Regions from separate parts of the Homo sapiens genome. Here regions 1, 2 and 4 are each linked to region 3. The links are contacts of gene promoters, found by promoter capture Hi-C in blood cells and fetal thymus (Javierre and others, 2016). All regions are on one chromosome and are shown on one strand. Each heading gives the region's core, a stretch centred on a gene start or on the middle of the fragment in contact. The rest is flanking DNA. Distances are from core to core; before and after follow the strand shown. Region 1 holds the start of PTCHD3 (patched domain containing 3 (gene/pseudogene)). Region 2 overlaps MPP7 (MAGUK p55 scaffold protein 7). Region 3 holds the start of MKX (mohawk homeobox). Region 4 overlaps MPP7 (MAGUK p55 scaffold protein 7).

What was found. The method cuts DNA at HindIII sites, captures the fragments that hold promoters and counts their contacts. A CHiCAGO score of 5 or more calls a contact.
Region 1: a contact is called between the fragment with the promoter of PTCHD3 here and the fragment with the promoter of MKX in region 3, in 3 of 17 cell types (M0 macrophages, erythroblasts and M1 macrophages). The highest score is 7.9, in M0 macrophages.
Region 2: a fragment that was not itself captured here is called in contact with the fragment with the promoter of MKX in region 3 in 1 of 17 cell types (M0 macrophages); the score reaches 6.8 in M0 macrophages.
Region 4: a contact is called between a fragment that was not itself captured here and the fragment with the promoter of MKX in region 3, in 5 of 17 cell types (M0 macrophages, endothelial precursors, total CD4 T cells and 2 more). The highest score is 6.9, in M0 macrophages.

The regions. Positions count from the first base shown.
Region 1 is chr10:27,411,395-27,415,679 of GRCh38, forward strand. It overlaps PTCHD3 (patched domain containing 3 (gene/pseudogene)), which reads right to left and starts at 2,953. Exons shown (of 4, transcript NM_001034842.5): 1 at 1,768-2,953; 2 at 414-535. The coding sequence starts at 2,856. RefSeq lists a silencer at 2,006-2,300. The HindIII fragment of the contact is 6,271 bases long and covers 404-4,285 here.
Region 2 is chr10:28,154,286-28,158,245 of GRCh38, forward strand. All of the region lies in intron 3 of MPP7 (MAGUK p55 scaffold protein 7), which reads right to left. Among named protein-coding and RNA genes, the nearest start is that of SNORD130, 83 kb to the left of the region's middle. The HindIII fragment of the contact is 6,328 bases long and covers 1-3,960 here.
Region 3 is chr10:27,742,942-27,747,178 of GRCh38, forward strand. MKX (mohawk homeobox) reads right to left here and starts at 2,878. Exons shown (of 7, transcript NM_173576.3): 1 at 2,766-2,878; 2 at 287-556. The coding sequence starts at 474. MKX-AS1 (MKX antisense RNA 1) reads left to right here and starts at 1,674. Exons shown (of 2, transcript NR_121652.1): 1 at 1,674-2,007. RefSeq lists enhancers at 1-18, 2,369-2,959. The HindIII fragment of the contact is 8,324 bases long and covers 1-3,936 here.
Region 4 is chr10:28,193,914-28,197,746 of GRCh38, forward strand. All of the region lies in intron 3 of MPP7 (MAGUK p55 scaffold protein 7), which reads right to left. Among named protein-coding and RNA genes, the nearest start is that of MIR8086, 94 kb to the right of the region's middle. The HindIII fragment of the contact is 7,687 bases long and covers 1-3,833 here.

The DNA of each region.
Region 1 (4,285 bases), core at 1,703-4,202, 330 kb before region 3:
AAAAGCAATGGAGTTCTGATACACGCTACAAGGATGAACCTTGAAAATATTATGCCTAGTGAAATGAGCCAGTCACAAAAAGATAAATATATGATTCCACTATATGAAATCTTGAGGAAAATTCACAGAGACAAAGTAGATTAAAGTTAACTGGCACTGGGTTGGGGGTGGTGGTGGTGATGGGGAATTTATTGCAAAATGTTAACAGAGTTCTTGTTTGGGATGATGCAAAATATTTGAAAACAGATCATTGTGATGGTTGCATGCCAATGTGGATGTAATTAATGCCACCGAATTTTACACTTAAGAGTGGCTATAACATCATATGTTATGTCATATATATTATTATATTTTACCACAATAAAGTATTTTTCATAAAGTAAGAGATTTAAAAACTAATCAAAGCTTTTTACCTAAAGCATGATGTGACTGCAAACAGAATGATGAGAATGTATGCCAGGTGAAACACAGGGATCACAGTCACAGAAGTTGCCTCAAATTCCAGTTGTCTGGAAAGCGATGTAAAGTGGACTACCTGCCACAAAAATATACTCAGATAAATAGCTTTTAATTACAATATTTGTGTGTGAGTTACAAAAACTATTGAAACACTTTATCTTAGTGATGAAACAATATGTATGTTAAAATTCAGCAAAAGATAAAAATACATGGATTATGACTTCAGAATAGAGAAAATAATGTAGATTTGCTTCTTTCCACACATCTATGGATTCCCCAAGTTTCTTTCAAATTCAAAGTTTAAATAAAACTCCTGAATAAACAAAATCTGAATTTTATATAAAACTTTGAAATCTTTTTTTTTTTTGAGACAGGGCCCTCAACCTCCTGGGCTCAAGTCATCCTCCTGCCTTGGCCTTACGAATAGCTGGGACTACAGGTGTGCACCACCACGACTGGCTAACTTTTGTAATTTTTGTAGAGATGGGGTTTTGCCAGGTTGCCGAGGCTGGTCTTGAACCCCTGGACTCAAGCAGTCTACCTGCCTTGGTGTCCCAAAATGCTGGGATTATAGGCGTGAGCCACCACACCCAGCCTAAAACTGTTTAATCTTGTTCTCATTAATAGCTGCAGAAATTGTAACTTTTTCTAAATTTGTATTAGGTTAGTGTCTTTTACTATTTCAGTTGCATAAATATTTCAGGAGGGCCTGGTCTTTGAAAGCTCTTTCCAGCAGGTGTCTCTTTCACTAGGCTTATTTATACATCTGAATAGTGTTGCAGATCCACCAATAACTGAACAGCTAATATGTACCTCACACTAAGCCAGGTGCTGCTTCGTATGTATCTAACTTGAAAAATGCTAAGCTAGTTATCTTCTTAAGGCTATGGAACTTTTACTTAAAAGACGGTTTGTTTTTTAATCCCAATGAGCTCCAAGCAAGTTTTAGGGGTTCCCCCAAACCAGTGAAGACTTTAACTAAAAGTAGAATTTCAGAATACTGTAATTTGATTAGAAACCAAACCCCAAAATTAAACATGAAGATCAATGTCTGTACTGAACAGGCCCATCTGGTGGACATAGGATTTGTGTTATCGACTAGAATGCTACCAAGGATTCACAATTTCTGGCATCCGTCGGTGTTAAGAAAATTGGGTTGAGTACCAAATACAGTAGAGCACACCCAGCCTAGAGGCAAGGGCCCCGTAAAGTAGTCAGGAAGTGCTTTTGTTACGATTCTGGGGAGCAAGTCTTCCTCATCCCTCTCACCTTCTCCTGGCCTCCCTGTAAACCCACACCACCAGGTACCTCAATTTTTTTCAAGGCCAAGATGTTCTTAATGTTGGTAAATTGATCGAGCAAATGGGTGAGCCACTGCTTGCTCTGCACGTCGTACTCAGGGTCCTCGGTCTTCAGGTAGTACAGCAGCCGCATGGCTTTGGCCCGCAGGAGTAACTGGCCCATTCCTAGGCTGCCCCCCAAGATGTATCCTCCGAAGAAGCCGGTCAGGTAGAGGGGATGCCTGCCGTGGTTGTAGGCGGGGAAGGAGATGCTGCTCAGGTTGAGCGTTTTGTTCACCTGCCAGGCGTACAGGATCGGGTTGGGGGGCACGCAGAGCGCCCTGTACCTCGCGCACACCTGCTGGTACTGGATCTGGCTTCCCTTTTCCCGCGCCACGCGCAGATCCTGCACCGCGCCGTCCAGTTTGCTGACTTCTGCAAAGGTAGCTGGGTCCAGCAGTGAGTCGCTGTAGGAGACCACCAGAAGCGAGACGAAATTGGCTTCGGTGCTCCTCCTGGAGGCGGAGAAGCGGTAGGAGTCGTTGGTGGTGAAATGGCCCTGCACGAAGCGCCGCTCCGCCTTGGCCGGGCTCCCCACAGGGGTGTAATGCTCCTCTAGGTCTTCCTCTTCGTCCTTGGGTAGGTACAGGAAGCCGGTGCCCAGCGCGGCTGTCAGCATCAAGGGCGCCAGCAGGAAGATCCAGGGGTGCGCGCCCACCTGCCACCCCAGCCACTGGAAGGTGCGGGACAGCAGCCCCTCTAGGCAGTCGGTGTGACAGCGGTGCCGGTGCCTGCAGATGGCCGTGGGTTCGGGGGTTTCCTCCTCCGGCAGGGGTGCATCGTCCAGCTCCAGCGGCAGGCGGGGTGCATCGTCCAGCATCGACGGCCGGGGGGGTGCATCGTCCCCCTCTGGCAGGGGTGCATCCTGCTCCGACGCCAGGGGTCCTGAGGGTTCGGGGGATTTCGGGGGTGCCAGGGGTCCCGGGGGTGGCTGCTTGCCTTCCGACTCCGATTCCTGAGATTCCTGGTACCACTGCGGCCCGGTGGCAGAGTCCGGTTTGGTGAGCTTGGGCTTCTGCTCCGGCCCCGGCCTGGGCTTGGGCTCCACCCACGGCATTGATTCTTCCTCTTAGGAAGCGCAGGAGGAACAGCAGGTGAAAAGCAGCTGCGGAGATCCCACCAGACGGTTTCCTGGCCCCACCCAACGCTCTCCTGGCCCCACCCAACGGTTTCCTGGAGAAATTCTAGGGGAGTTTGCCCTCCAGCCGCGCTCCGGAAGCGGAGGCTGCGTTGGGAGCACGTGGTTTGCCCCGTCGCCCAACTAATCTGAAATGTGTTTGTGGCGTGCCTGGTTTCTCAGGGGTTCTGCACATACAAGGAACGCTTCTTCAAGGCCATCAAATGCGTGCCTATCCTATGGACTCGCAATTTATTGGGAGAATGTGGGTGTTTCTTCCATGCACACAAATGGCACAGAAATTCCACGTGTCCTGAGTGACAGATTTTACCTTTCTTGGCATTCACCCAGTAACAGTTTCAAGTAAGACTTTTATGAATCTGACACACTTGACTTAGTTATTATTTTTATTTTCTGTCCACAAGTGTAACATGTACATACATTCTCCTAGTAAAAAGAAGTAAATGCATAGAATGAAAAGTGGGGAAAAAAAAATCAAAATCTTTCACTCCCATTCCTCTTAAAAGAAGTGTTAAAAAGTGGGTCTACATCCTTGCAAACCCTTTCTATGCATATACATGCATATCAAAGATATAGCAAATATACCTTTTTCATAAATACTACTTCACTATTCATGTTATGTAGATCACATTTTTCATCTACAGTGGCAGAAGATTTGAACATGTCAGTGCATATGGATTTATCTTATTTTTTTGAACTGCTCTATACTTTTCCAATGTATGGATGAAACATAATTTAGCCAGAATTTTACTGATGGACCCATACATTGTTTAGTCATTTGCTTTTATAAACAGTGCTCAGTAAATAAATATCATATTTTAACCTGTACACAGCAACCATATCTGTGAGAGATAATTCTTTAGAGTGGATTCACTAGGCCAAAGGATAGGTTCTTTTAAATTTTTAGAGCTATTGAGAAATTAAAATCCAAAGAAGTTGTATTGATTTATACCCTCATAAGCAATATATGAATTTGCCACAGCCTATCCTACAATGTCAGCAAAGTGGTTTGTGCCACTGGCATCTTACTTTGGTTTAATTTTGAATGTACTGCTTAGTATCCTTATCTTTCCTTTTTGAGTGAACTATCATATCTTTTGCGTGCCTATTCCATTCAATAGTTTTCCTATTGGATTTTGGGATTTTCTTCTTGATTTATATGTTAAAGAAATGACCACTTTTCTTGTGGTCTGAGTTACAAGCCTCCCCTCTCCCCTCATTTTTCTCATTGCCATGGCTTATTTTTGCAATTCAATTAATGAATACTTTTCTTTCATGAATTCCATTTTTTGTCATAACAAATTTTTCTTTTTTTGTGATTATAATTGCTGCGATTTGAATGAATGTG
Region 2 (3,960 bases), core at 1,340-3,839, 410 kb after region 3:
TAACAAAGTAGCCCTAGAAAAGTAGCTATTCTGTGTGTGTATATCATAAAGCCTAAAAACTTGGAGGCTGTACCTTTGCTCAAGCTACACAGTCAGAAGTAAAAATGTAAAGAAATAAAGCCTTCCCATAGGAATCGCTGGGAGCAACTGGTACTTTGCCTTCAATTCCAGCCAGGGTGTTTGCAACATCTCTACACAGATGCATAATTCTTATAAGGAACATGTCTATAAAGTCTACAAAATACAAAGCACCAAAAACCGTTTTTAGGCTTAAATTAAATGATTAAAAAGCAACAAACCATCAACATTTTCATTTTGGTTGAAAATGTAGTGATACTATTTGAAACCACTTCTCAGAACATTTTCTACAGATCAAATTCCTTTAGTTCCCAGAATAATGTTCTAGAGAAAGTAGCCAGGGCATTAAACATTTCTTTGGAAAATCTGAGTTAGTTGGGGTGGGGGGTGGTGGGGAAACTTGAATTCTCCAATCCAGAGATATATAATCTGTCCCATTTTGAAACAACCCCAAATTTCTACATACATTTATTTTTCACTCCCCACATATTACAATTATGAGAGCTGCCATTCTTCAAAAATCTGTATTTCAGTAATTGTTTTTTTTTTCCAGTAATTGTTGATGAAGTGGGAACTGTTAAATTTTTGATCAGATAGCTGTTACTGCAGATGATGTCATGGAACTCAGACAGGTTTCAACATACAAGTAGCAATCAATTACCTTGTATACTTGTTTGCAGTTTACATTTTAACAAACATTAAAACTGTAATTACAGCTTAAAACTAGTTTTGTAACAAAAGATGGAATGAACCGTCTTAAAACGTGGCGAGTCTGGGATCTATGGCTAGGAGAGTTCATGTGTGACTCAGTTGATTCATGAACTCCTGAAAACTATATACAATTTGTTTGCATGCATTTTCTAGGAAAATACCCAAATACAGATGGGTGATTTATGCTAAAGGACTTAAGACTTTATTCAGTAAATAAATAAATAGCCATTAAAGGCCAAGTGCGGTGGCTCACACCGGTAAGCCCAGCACTTTGGGAGGCCAAGGCAGGCAGATTGCTTGAGCCCAGGAGTTCAACACCAGCCTGGGTAACATGGTGAAACCCCAACTCTACAAAAAATACAGAAATTGGCCAGGCATGGTAGTGTACACCTGTAGTCCCAGCTACTCGGGAGGCTGAAGTGGGCAGACTGATTGATTGATTGAGCCCAGGAAGTGGAGGTTGCAGTGAGCTCAGATTGTGCCACCACACTCCAGCCTGGGCAACAGAGCCAGACCCTGTCTCCAAAAAAAAAAAGAAAGAAAAAGAAAAAGGCATTAAAGAATAGGAGACCCTTGGGCCAATTTGTGCTTCACTCCATTTTCCTTGGACAGATTTGGGGAGGAAGGGAGGTAGCAGGTAAGACGAGGAACAGAAAACCTGTTAGGAGGATATTGTGCTAGTGGTCAGAAACTTAAAAAAAAAAAACAAAACAAAACAAACAAACTGGTCACTGCTCAGTGCAGATGACTTTGGGGTTCCTCAGGTTTCCCTTTCTTTGCAAACACAATGGACTTAAGCAGTTCCATCTCCTCTCAGCAGCCACCACACTGCCTCTATCCCCAAATCTGTTGTGAAATCAGATGTACTCTTCCAGCTATTGTTTTCCTTGCTGCCTCCAAGATAAACATATAGGCCCATTGTACGTTAGAGATTTAACTGTTATCTCCATAGAGAAAAGGAAAAGCACTAAAAAAAATGAAGAATTTATAGTATTTTCACAGTTTTAAAAGATGAAGTATCAACATAATTTACTGAGAGTCTTGAAGTCAAATACATGAGTTTAAATCCCAATTCCGCCCCTTACTTATGCTTAAGCAACTTATTTAACTTTCTATGCCTTAGTTTTCTCATATTTAAAACAGGATAATAATCGTATCTATTAACTAGGGTTACTGTGAGAATGAAAGTCACCATTAAAAGAGTTTCACGCAAGTTCTGGAAAATAGAAAACACCTAATAAACAGTATTTATTTCCAATTCCCCTGCTCGCTTCCACTGGTGTTCCTAGTAAGAGGAGATTCTCGTCTCCCTTTGACTACACCATGTCGTGTATACATATGATACAATCAAGACCTAAAGATCAACATCAAAGATTAATCGGTATCACCTATATTCAAGAAGAGAATTTCTGAGGTCACGCAACCAAATGCCATCTCTATTGACATTTCTTCAAAAACAGTCCAAGTAAAAAGAGAAGAGGACCTGAACAAAGGGCTAATGGAAGCCTGGATGGACACAGGAAAGGCAGACAGTAACTGTGACCACCAGATACGGACACAGGAAAGGCAGACACTAACTGTGATCACTGCAAGTGGCAAATGATGGAAAGGGTGCAAGACCAAGCTGAGAGTATCATAAGGAGGTTTCCTGGAGGAATGAGGGGTGTGATGAAAAACCTAGATCTACATGTTTATTAACAGGTTCAAAAAGAATCTGTCTGGACGCACCCACAGCTCTAGCTGCCCTGTTCCCAAAGAAGAAAGTTCTATCTTTGGTGAGAAGACAGAATGAAACCCTCACACAAGAAAAAGTGTAACAGTGAGGTGGAAAGATTCTTAGAAAAAGAGTAATCGGCCAGGTGTGGTGGCTCACACCTGTAATCCCAGCACTTTGGGAGGCCGAGGCAAGAGGATCACCTGAGGTCAGGAGTTCGAGACCAGCCTGGTCAACATGGTGAAACCCTGTCTCTACCAAAAATACTAAAATTAGCCAGGTGTGGTGCAGCGTGCCTGTAATCCCAGCTACTCGGGAGGCTGAGACAGGAGAATCGCTTGAACCCGAGAGGCAGAGGTTGCAGTGAGCCGAGATCATGCCATTGCACTTCAGCCTGGGCAGCAGGGCGAGACTTGGTCTCAGAAAGGAAAGGAAAGAAAAGGAAAAGGAAAAGAAAAAGAGTAACCGTCAGAGTCACTTCAAAGACGATACAGGGCTAGCTATCACTGTTGTCAGCTCTCATCTGTCTATCATTTGGGAATCCAAAGACCCTCTGCCCACAAGCCCAAATTCTGTTGAAATTAATAAGGAAGCTCACATAATTTTGAGATGAGCTAGGATCTGGTTAGGGAATGTGGAGTGTATTCCAATGTGACTGTATGGAAAATGACTATTAGACAGGAATCAGACTTTATTCACAATGGAAATACCCAGCAACCATAAACTGGTTGTCACTTCCTTATTTAAGCCCTTTGGTGGCTTGCCATTGCTCTTGAGATGAAGGGCATGCCTGCCAATGCACTTGAAACTCAAGCCTGTTCTGGGGCTCTGCATGCCCTGGACCCTGCAGACTTCCATCTCAAGCCATTCTCCATCAGGTTCCACCCACAGGGACCTTATGTTAGACCCTCAAGCACCCAGAGTCTCTCCTACCTCAAGGCATCCTCTCTGCCTGCAATGTTCCTGAGTCTTGGGGGTACCCACATTCATCTCTGAGTCTTAGCTAAAATGTCACTTACACACAGCTTTTCCCAACAGTCTTACCCAATCAAAACCAGTTCTCCTTCATTATTAGGTCTGATGGCTTCCTATTCTTTTTGTTCACTATCCTTATCAGACTTTGTATTTATAGATTTATCATATTTATCTGTTTACACCCCCATCGGTAAGGAAATTCATAGATCAGGGACAATGTCCCTAGAGTTCACCACCAGATCCCTTGCTCATAACCCAATGCCTCACATAAAATAGATGTTAAAACGTTATTATTAGTTAGTGATAAGTGGACATATAAATCCTCTAATCCTGCACAGTTGGTAACACCCTGGGATCACCGTGGAAGAGGATGATAAATGCAATGATTTTCTTCTTGCCCCAAAACTGATGACTAGTCCCCAAAGCTGAGGAAAAAGAAGTGTTAAGTCTCATGTTCTAAGAAAAACTCCAAACAGCTGAAA
Region 3 (4,237 bases), core at 1,628-4,127:
CCCAACTCCGAGGTCCAGGCAGCGGAGGGCCGAGGGGCAGCTCCTGGCGCCCTTAGTCTCCACCAAGCTCTTTGGAGCTGCCCCGACGAATTGATCCCTCATGTTTTAAGATAGGAGCCCCTTAACATGAGAATGCGCGAGCCCTGGAGGGGCAGACCTGCACTCCCAGGGAACTCCGGGCCCTTTCCCGTCCACCCGCCCGCGTTGCCACGGGACCCCGTCACAGCTCACCACCCCCACCCCTCCGGGCCGCAGGCGGGCAGGGCCCCCAGGGGAGTGCGCATACCCGGTCCTCCGGTGTCTCAGGCCGAGGTTGTCCTTGAGGGGCGGGCCGTCGGGAATGCCCACCTCGGGGCGGGCGTGAGGACTGTCCAGGACACCGCTGTAGGGCCGGCCACCCCGCTCCCGCTCCGAGGCGCCTCCGTCCTCAAACAGCACCGCACCGCTGAGCTTGTTGAAGACGATGGTGTTCATGGTGTCGGTTGGTAGGGACGCGCGGCGCGGCCGCAGAGCCTCGGGGCTGGGCCGCCGGGAGCTCCGCAGCGGGGCTCGGCTTCTAGGAGAGGAAGGTGCATCTCGTTACTTACTGGCTGAGAGTGCTCAGACCCCTGCAGGTTCAGGGCCTTGAACTTGGCCGGGTCGCCGGGCTGCGGAGCCGAGGGGAGGAGCGGCGCCGCCGCAACTGGCAGGGACCCTGCGGCTCTCCCCAGTTGGCTACACGCCCCCGCCCCTGCAGGTTCCCCGGACAGGTACCTGCCCTCTTCCTTGCCTGGGCGATCGATCCCCCCAATCCCTTCACTCCCCAGAACTACAACCGGGAATCATTCACCCGCAGAGGCAAAGGAAACGAATTCCCAAACGAGCCTCTGGGTTTCAGTTTGAATCTGGGAGAGGCATACTCCGGACTGCGGAGCGCGACCGGCGTGAGGCCGCGCGTGGTTCTTCAATCACAGCAGAAGACTAAAGCCTCTAGGAACCCCAACTCGGGGCGTCAGGAGGGGTTGGATGGAAGGGAAGATTTGGGGTAATGTGCCAACCGTATCCACAAGACCCCCCAGCTCATGAGTCCCAGGCCATACCGGGATTTGGGGGATTTTCGTGTTTTCTAGATCGTGGATGGTTTGGTTGAAACCCCCGCATCTTCTGTCCGCCAAGGTCCCCCGGGGTGAGGTTGGGTTCAAGGACAGGAAAAAGTTAAGTGGCGTCAGGACGAAAGCACCACTTCTCCCCCTTCTCTCCCAGAATCTTCCTATCATCCCCCAACGCGCCCCGGGAAGTGCATGGTCCTAAGGTCCAAGGCGCCAGGACCCAGGTCCCCAGAGCCCTCAATCAGTGCCATTCTCTTCCGCAGCGCGGGTGTCAGCCGCGAGCTCGTAGCCCCTCGACACCCGCCTCTCTCTGGGGTCTCCGGGGACCCTTTCAGAGGCTGTAAAGGTGTCAGAAGCCCAAGGCAGGAGGCAGCTTGGTCGGCGCACCTCCCGGGCCACTGCTGCCACTGTCGGGGAGAGCCAGCAGCTCACCTCTGGGGTCGCGGAGGCCCTGAGCCTCTGCCTGCCGCGCACCGGCGTCAGGAGCAAGTCCGCGCGGCCGCGGAGCCGCAGAGTTACAGCCCCAAGGCGCGCGGCGGACTTCGCCCGCCCCATCTCCTCGCCTCGCGCCTCGGGACAGCTCCCGTTTCCTCCGAGCGGCCTCAGCTTCGCTGCCAGCGCCCCCTTTGCCCGTCCAGCCGCGGCATGGGCTGCTACTCCACTAACACACGCGCGCGCGCATACACACACACACACACACACACACACACACACACCCTTTGCCTCGCCAAGCGCCCACACTCGCCAACGCCCCCGCCCCGCCCTTCGGCCACCGCAGCAGAGGCCACGCGTGACATTTAGGACCACGCGTGACCACCGCGATCAAACGACGGCTACGGTCTGTGTTCGTAGGGAAGTGAAGTCAGACCTCTGCTGGATGTCGTGTGTCCCCTAGGACTGCGTCCTCCCGCGCAGACAGGTACGTGCCTGGGGTGTGCACATAGCCTCGGTGATAAGTGTCAAAGAGAATTTTCGTGCTTGCAGCCCCTGTTCTACAGTCAAGACTCGCGTTGGTGTTTTCTTTTAAAATCATGCCCTTAGGGATGTGTGTTCATGCTGCTTTATTTGTACAAGACACCCTTCCCCGGCCCGGCCTTCTCCGAGCCACCCCAGCGCGTCCTCCTAGATGCGACGACGTGTTTTTCCTAGCGAAGTCATCACGAGGTTAGCCACCTCGGACACTTCCCCGGCAGCCCCAAGCCCACGCAGAGATCGCAGACACAGACACCCGGCGCGCTGTAGGTCTGCAGGCAGCAGGCTCAGAGGCAAGCGATGGCAAAGGTCCGAGCGCTGTCCTGTCGCAAGGGGTCCGGGGGCGTGTGAACCACACTTGCTGACCCTCCCAGGACTCCCGCGCGCGGCCACCCGCGCCTCTTCTCAAATCACTTACCCCGATTCACTCCAGACTGTGGCCGGGGAGGTCACTCCCTGCAGAAGTGTCCCCCTCCCCCAACGCCGGCGAATAATTTTAAAGCAAAGGAGGCGCGGCCAGGTGGGCTCCCAAGCTCCGCGCAGACCCTTGGGCCAGCCTTGGCCGCTACCCGAGCGCCTCTCCACCAGACCTTGGAGGGAAGTTGGGGGAAGGGCGGGAGAGCACCGGCGCCCAGGGCGCAGGGGCCAGAGCGAGCCTGGCGTTCCGCCGCAGCCGGCTGAGACTCGGCGACGCGGGGGCTGTACCTGTGGCTGCGGGGCCGACGGCCGGCTGCAGGGCGGCTGGCTCTCCCGCCTCGAGACTAGGCGCACTCCCATCCCCGCCGCATGTTCTCCACGCGGGCTCCAGCGCGCTCACCACCGCCACCGCCGTCGTCTCGGCTTTATTTACCCAGCCCGGCGCGCGCCGCCCGGGAACAGGAATAGCGAGGCCTTCTCATGTTTCCTGACTGCCGGTCCCAGCCGGCGAACATCCTGCGGGCGCGGTATCCACGTTCCCGGGCGGGTGGAGAGGAAGCGTCCGCGCCCGCCCGGCCGCGGGGGCTGCTGTTAACCCCTAGCAGAGGAGCCGCTGCCGGGGAGCCCCGGGCCCGCCGAGTCCTCCGGAGCCGGGCGCGGCTCCCAGATCCGCCGGCCTTGCAGTCGTGGAGCAGACGGGGCTTTTCCCTTCGCACTTTAGGAGAGAAATTGGAGAAGCTGCCGGGAGCGCTCGGCTCCGGCTCCAGAAGCTGAGAGGCTGCGGTGCAAATCCCGTGTCTTAGCTGGCCCGATTGCCGGAAATTTCACTGCGCGTGGCTAGGCGGGAGAGGCCACTGTGACGCGCCCTGTATTTTCCTCTCGATTAGCTGGAGGGAAGTTAGAGCTCCGTTTTGCACCTACAGCCCTGGAGCGTATTGCGGGAAGTGCTAGTGCCCAGGAGCCTCTTTTCTGATGTCACTGGGCTTCTGGGGTCCTAGTTGTCTCAGTCAAAGCCAGGCACACATTCACCTCCGGGGCAAGGGCTGGTGAGGCTGCCCTCGCCGCTGGGTATAGGGATGGGGGAAAGCAAGGATGGGATGAGTTCAGCCCAGGTGGCCAACCCGCGGTGGCCCAAGTGCAGAAGAGGAAGCGCGCCCAAAGCCAAGGATCTGCACGCAGCAAAGGAGATGGAACTTAGAAGAATCACAAGCTGGGACACAGGGCAAAGAGAGAGAATGGCTACCAGATTCTCTGATTGATGATACTTTGCTTCCTAACATTACCGCAAATATAAGTAGCGAAAGCGGCGGTTTAGGTGCAACTGCAAGCTCAGAGCTTCTGGCAGCCCAGAAGATCCCCAAGGTGCCAACACGAAGCTGCCTGCGCTCTCGCCGAAGGCCCTGTGGTCCTAGCGAACTTTCGCCCTTTTTAAAGAACAAACTTAGATTTCCCCCCACCAAGCTTAAAGAAATAGCGCCATTTGTCCTTTTCCCCTCTAAATGCGGCTGGCCAGAGCCGGGGCAGTGGCCCACCTTAGCATCTTCTTCGTGTGTGTGTGTGTGTGTGCGCGTGTGTGTGTGTGTGTTTGTGTGTTGGGGGGGTCGCTAGAAGTGCTTAAAATATATACCAAAACTATTATTTTAAAGACTAATCACACCCTCAAATTTCATATGTGTCACCTCCCAAATTACGCGATAGCAAACCGTTGTGCAGGGGTACAATGTAAACCATAAAGGAAGGCCGGTTTACATTTTTGCGCA
Region 4 (3,833 bases), core at 1,111-3,610, 450 kb after region 3:
ACAAGGCTATAGAGCTACAGGGACTCTCACTCATTGCTGGTAGGAATTCAACATGGTACAGTCACCTTAAAAGACAATATGGCAGCTTCTTTTTGTTTGTTTGTTTTTGAAATGTTTTTGAAACAGAGTCTCACTCTGTCACCCAGGCTGGAGTGCAGTGACACAATCTCAACTCACTGCAACCTCCGCCTCCTGGATTCAAGCGATTCTTCTGCCTCAGCTTCTCAAGTAGCTGGGACTACAGGCGCGTGCCACCACACCTGGCTAGTTTTTTGTATTTCTAGTAGAGATAGGGTTTCACCATGTTGGCCAGAATGGTCTCGAACTCCAGACCTGGTGATCCACCCGCCTCGGCCTCCCAAAGTGCTGGGATTACAGGCATGAGCCACCACACCTGGCCAGCAGTTTCTTAAAAAGCTAGTCTTACCACATGATCCAGTAACTGTGCTCCGTGATATTTATCCAAATGAGTTGCAAACTTACATCTACACAAAAACCTGCACACAAATGTTTATAGAAAGTTTACCTGTAACTGCTCAAAACTGGAAGCAATGAACATGCCCTTCAAAAGGTTAATGGAGAAACAAACTATGGTGCTTATCTACAACTAAATCCTATTCAGCAATACAAAGTAAAGAAATGGGCTATGTTGCCATGAGAAGACTTGATGGAGCCCTAAATGCATATTACTAGGTAAAAGAAGCCAATCTGAAAAGGCTACATACTGTATTATTCCAACAATATGACCTTCTGGAAAAGGCAAAACTATTCAGACAGTAAAACTATCAGTGATTGCTGAGCTGGGGAGGGAGGACAGGTAAAGCATGGGAGATTTGGAAACGTAAAACTATTCTTCATGACAATGTAATAATAGATGCAAGACATAATGCATTTGTCAAAACCTGGAAGTATACAACACAAAGAATAAACCTTAATGTAGATAATGGAGTTCAATTAATAATAATGTATCAACCAACATTGGTTCGTTAATTGACAAATGTACCATGCCAATGCAAGAGGTAAATAATAAGAGAAACTGGGAAGGGGAGAAGGGGGATATGGGAGCTATCTGTACCATCTGCTCAATTTTTCTGTAAATCCAAAACAGTTCTACAAAGTAAAGTTTATTAATTAAAAAGAATCCAATGGGAGAAATGATGGGCAAAGGATCCAATTGGACATTTCTCCAAAGAAGACATACAAATAGCCAATAAGCACATGAAAAGATGGTTAACATTATTTAGACATCTAGAAAATGCAAATCAAAATCACAATGAGGTACCACTTCATACCCACCAGGACAGTAAGAATCAAAAAGTCAGATAAAAACAAATGTTGGTGAAGATACAGACAAATCAGAACCCTTATACACTGCTGGTGGGAATATAAAATGGTTCAGCCACTTAGAAAAATAGTCTAACAGGTCTTCATAAAAACTTAGAGCTACCATTTAACCTAGCAATTCCTCTCCTAGATACATACCCAGGAGAAGTGAAAATATACATCTATGCAATAACTTATACACAAATGTTCTTAGTAGCATCACCATAACAGCCAATAGGCAGAAACAACCCAAATGTCCATCCATGGATGAAAGGATGAACGAAGTGTGATATAGCCATACAATGTTATTCAGTCATAAAAAGGAATTAAGTACTGATACATGCTATAATTTGGGTGAGCCTTGAAAACATTAAGCTAAGTGACAGAAGTCAGTTACAAAAAAGCCACAGATGATGCCATTTATATGAAATTTCCAGGATAGGCAAATACATAGAGACAGAAAGTAGACTGGCAGTTGTTTAGGGATGGGATGGGAGAGAGAATGCAAGGATTGAAGAATGATGGCTAGGGGTGAAGGATTTATTTTTGAGGTGATAAAAAGGTTCTAAAACTGATTGTGGGGATAGGAAAAGAACAAAATAAACAAAATAAATAAAATTGATTTTGGCAATGGTTGCACAATCCTGTGAATATACTAAAAACCACTGAATTGTATGTTTTAAGTGGGTGATTTGACAGTAGGTGAATTATATAGCTCAACAAATCTGTTCCCAAAAGAATGTTACCTTCTAAACGTTGATGACTCCCAAATAAGAGCTGTCAGATTTCAGTAATGAAAATACAAATATTGCATGGTTCACACTTATAACAAAGACCATTCATTGCATATCTGAAATTCAACTGTAAGAGGATGTCCTGCATTTTATCTGGCACCCCTACTCCCAAATCTATTCTGTCCAATCCAGAACATAATTATCCTCAGTTCAATATTCACATATCCAGGCCAGATGCGGTGGCTCATGCCTGTAATCCCAGCACTTTGGGAGGCCAAGGCAGGTGGATCACCCAAGGTCAGGAGTTCAAGACCACCCTGGCCAACATGGTGGAACCCATCTCCACTAAAAGTATAAAAATTAGCTGGGCGTGGGGGCAGGTGCCTGTAATTGCAGCTACACGGGAGGCTGAGGCAGGAGACTCCCTTGAACCCAGGAGGCAGAGGTTGCAGTGAGCCGAGATCACACTACTGCACTCCAGCCTGGGTGACACAGCGAGACTCCATCTCGAAAAAAAAAAAAAAAAGATTCACACATCCAATAAGTAGCTCTATTTGATTATGCCCCAGATATCAAACATAACCAAAACTAAAATTACCTCTCATCTCCTCTGAGGAGATGGTCAAAATATATAAGAACTGGTACCTGGTATTGGTATCTTAGGGCTTATACAGGTCTCCTGGTATCCTCTTCCAACCCGCAATGGCCTGGCATAAACAATAGTTGGTGGCTTACAACAGGAGAGTTTCATATTTCAATGAAGAGCCCACAGGCAGATGAGAGCACACTGAACATCAGCCTCCCTCTCTCAAACTAAAATCAGTGGCTCTTCCAACACTTTGCCACCATCATCTCTGACCTGGGAATCTCATGTCCCATCCAGTCTTCACTGTTTACCTCTAAAAGAAAAACCTGATATCTTCACTGTTCTTGAAACCTTTCCATGCAATGGTTCCCACTCTCTTAGAAGAAAGCCCATTTACCTTCTGTCGTTTACAAAGCTATTCAAGAACAGGTCACTGTTCATCTCTCCTGCCACCCTTGGCTGCCCACAGCCTTCCTGGTGTCACAGATCAGCCAAAACAATCTGTTGACCTCAATCCTAAAGGTGGATTGTTCGCTCTTGCCTCCAGGTGTTCGCATCCATTATTCCTTCTGCCTGACCTCCCATGCCCTCATCCATCCCATAAACTCTAACCTGAGCAACTTCCTTTTTTTTTTTTTTTTTTTGAGATGGAATCTTGCTCTGTCGCCCAGGCTGGAGTACAGTGGCACGATCTCAGCTCACTGCAACCTCTGCCTCCCAGGTTCAAGCAATTCTCATGCCTCAGCCTCCCAAGCAGCTGGGATTACAAGAATGTGCCACCATGCCTGGCTAATTTTTGTATTTTTAGTAGAGACAGGGTTTCACCATTTTGACCAGGCTGGTCTCGAACTGTTGACCTCAAGTGATCCACCTGCCTCAGCCTCCCAAAGTGCTGGGATTACAGGCATGAGCCACCACACCCAGCCTAACCTGAGCAACTCCTATACCGAATGCAGGTTCCAACTTAAGATACCAAATCCTCCATGAACCGCCCCCTCTGAGGCTAGTGTTGAGTGAGGTACCTTGTGTCTCTCCTAAAAAGCTCCAAATGAGGCCTATCTTAGAATACTGTAATCATCCATCCCTTCATTTATAAACTCTCTGGGAGACTGGAGCCCCCACAGGCAAGGGATTGTGCCCACCAAGTTGAACATCTTGGCCCTAGTGGTCCATATAGTAACTGGCATAGA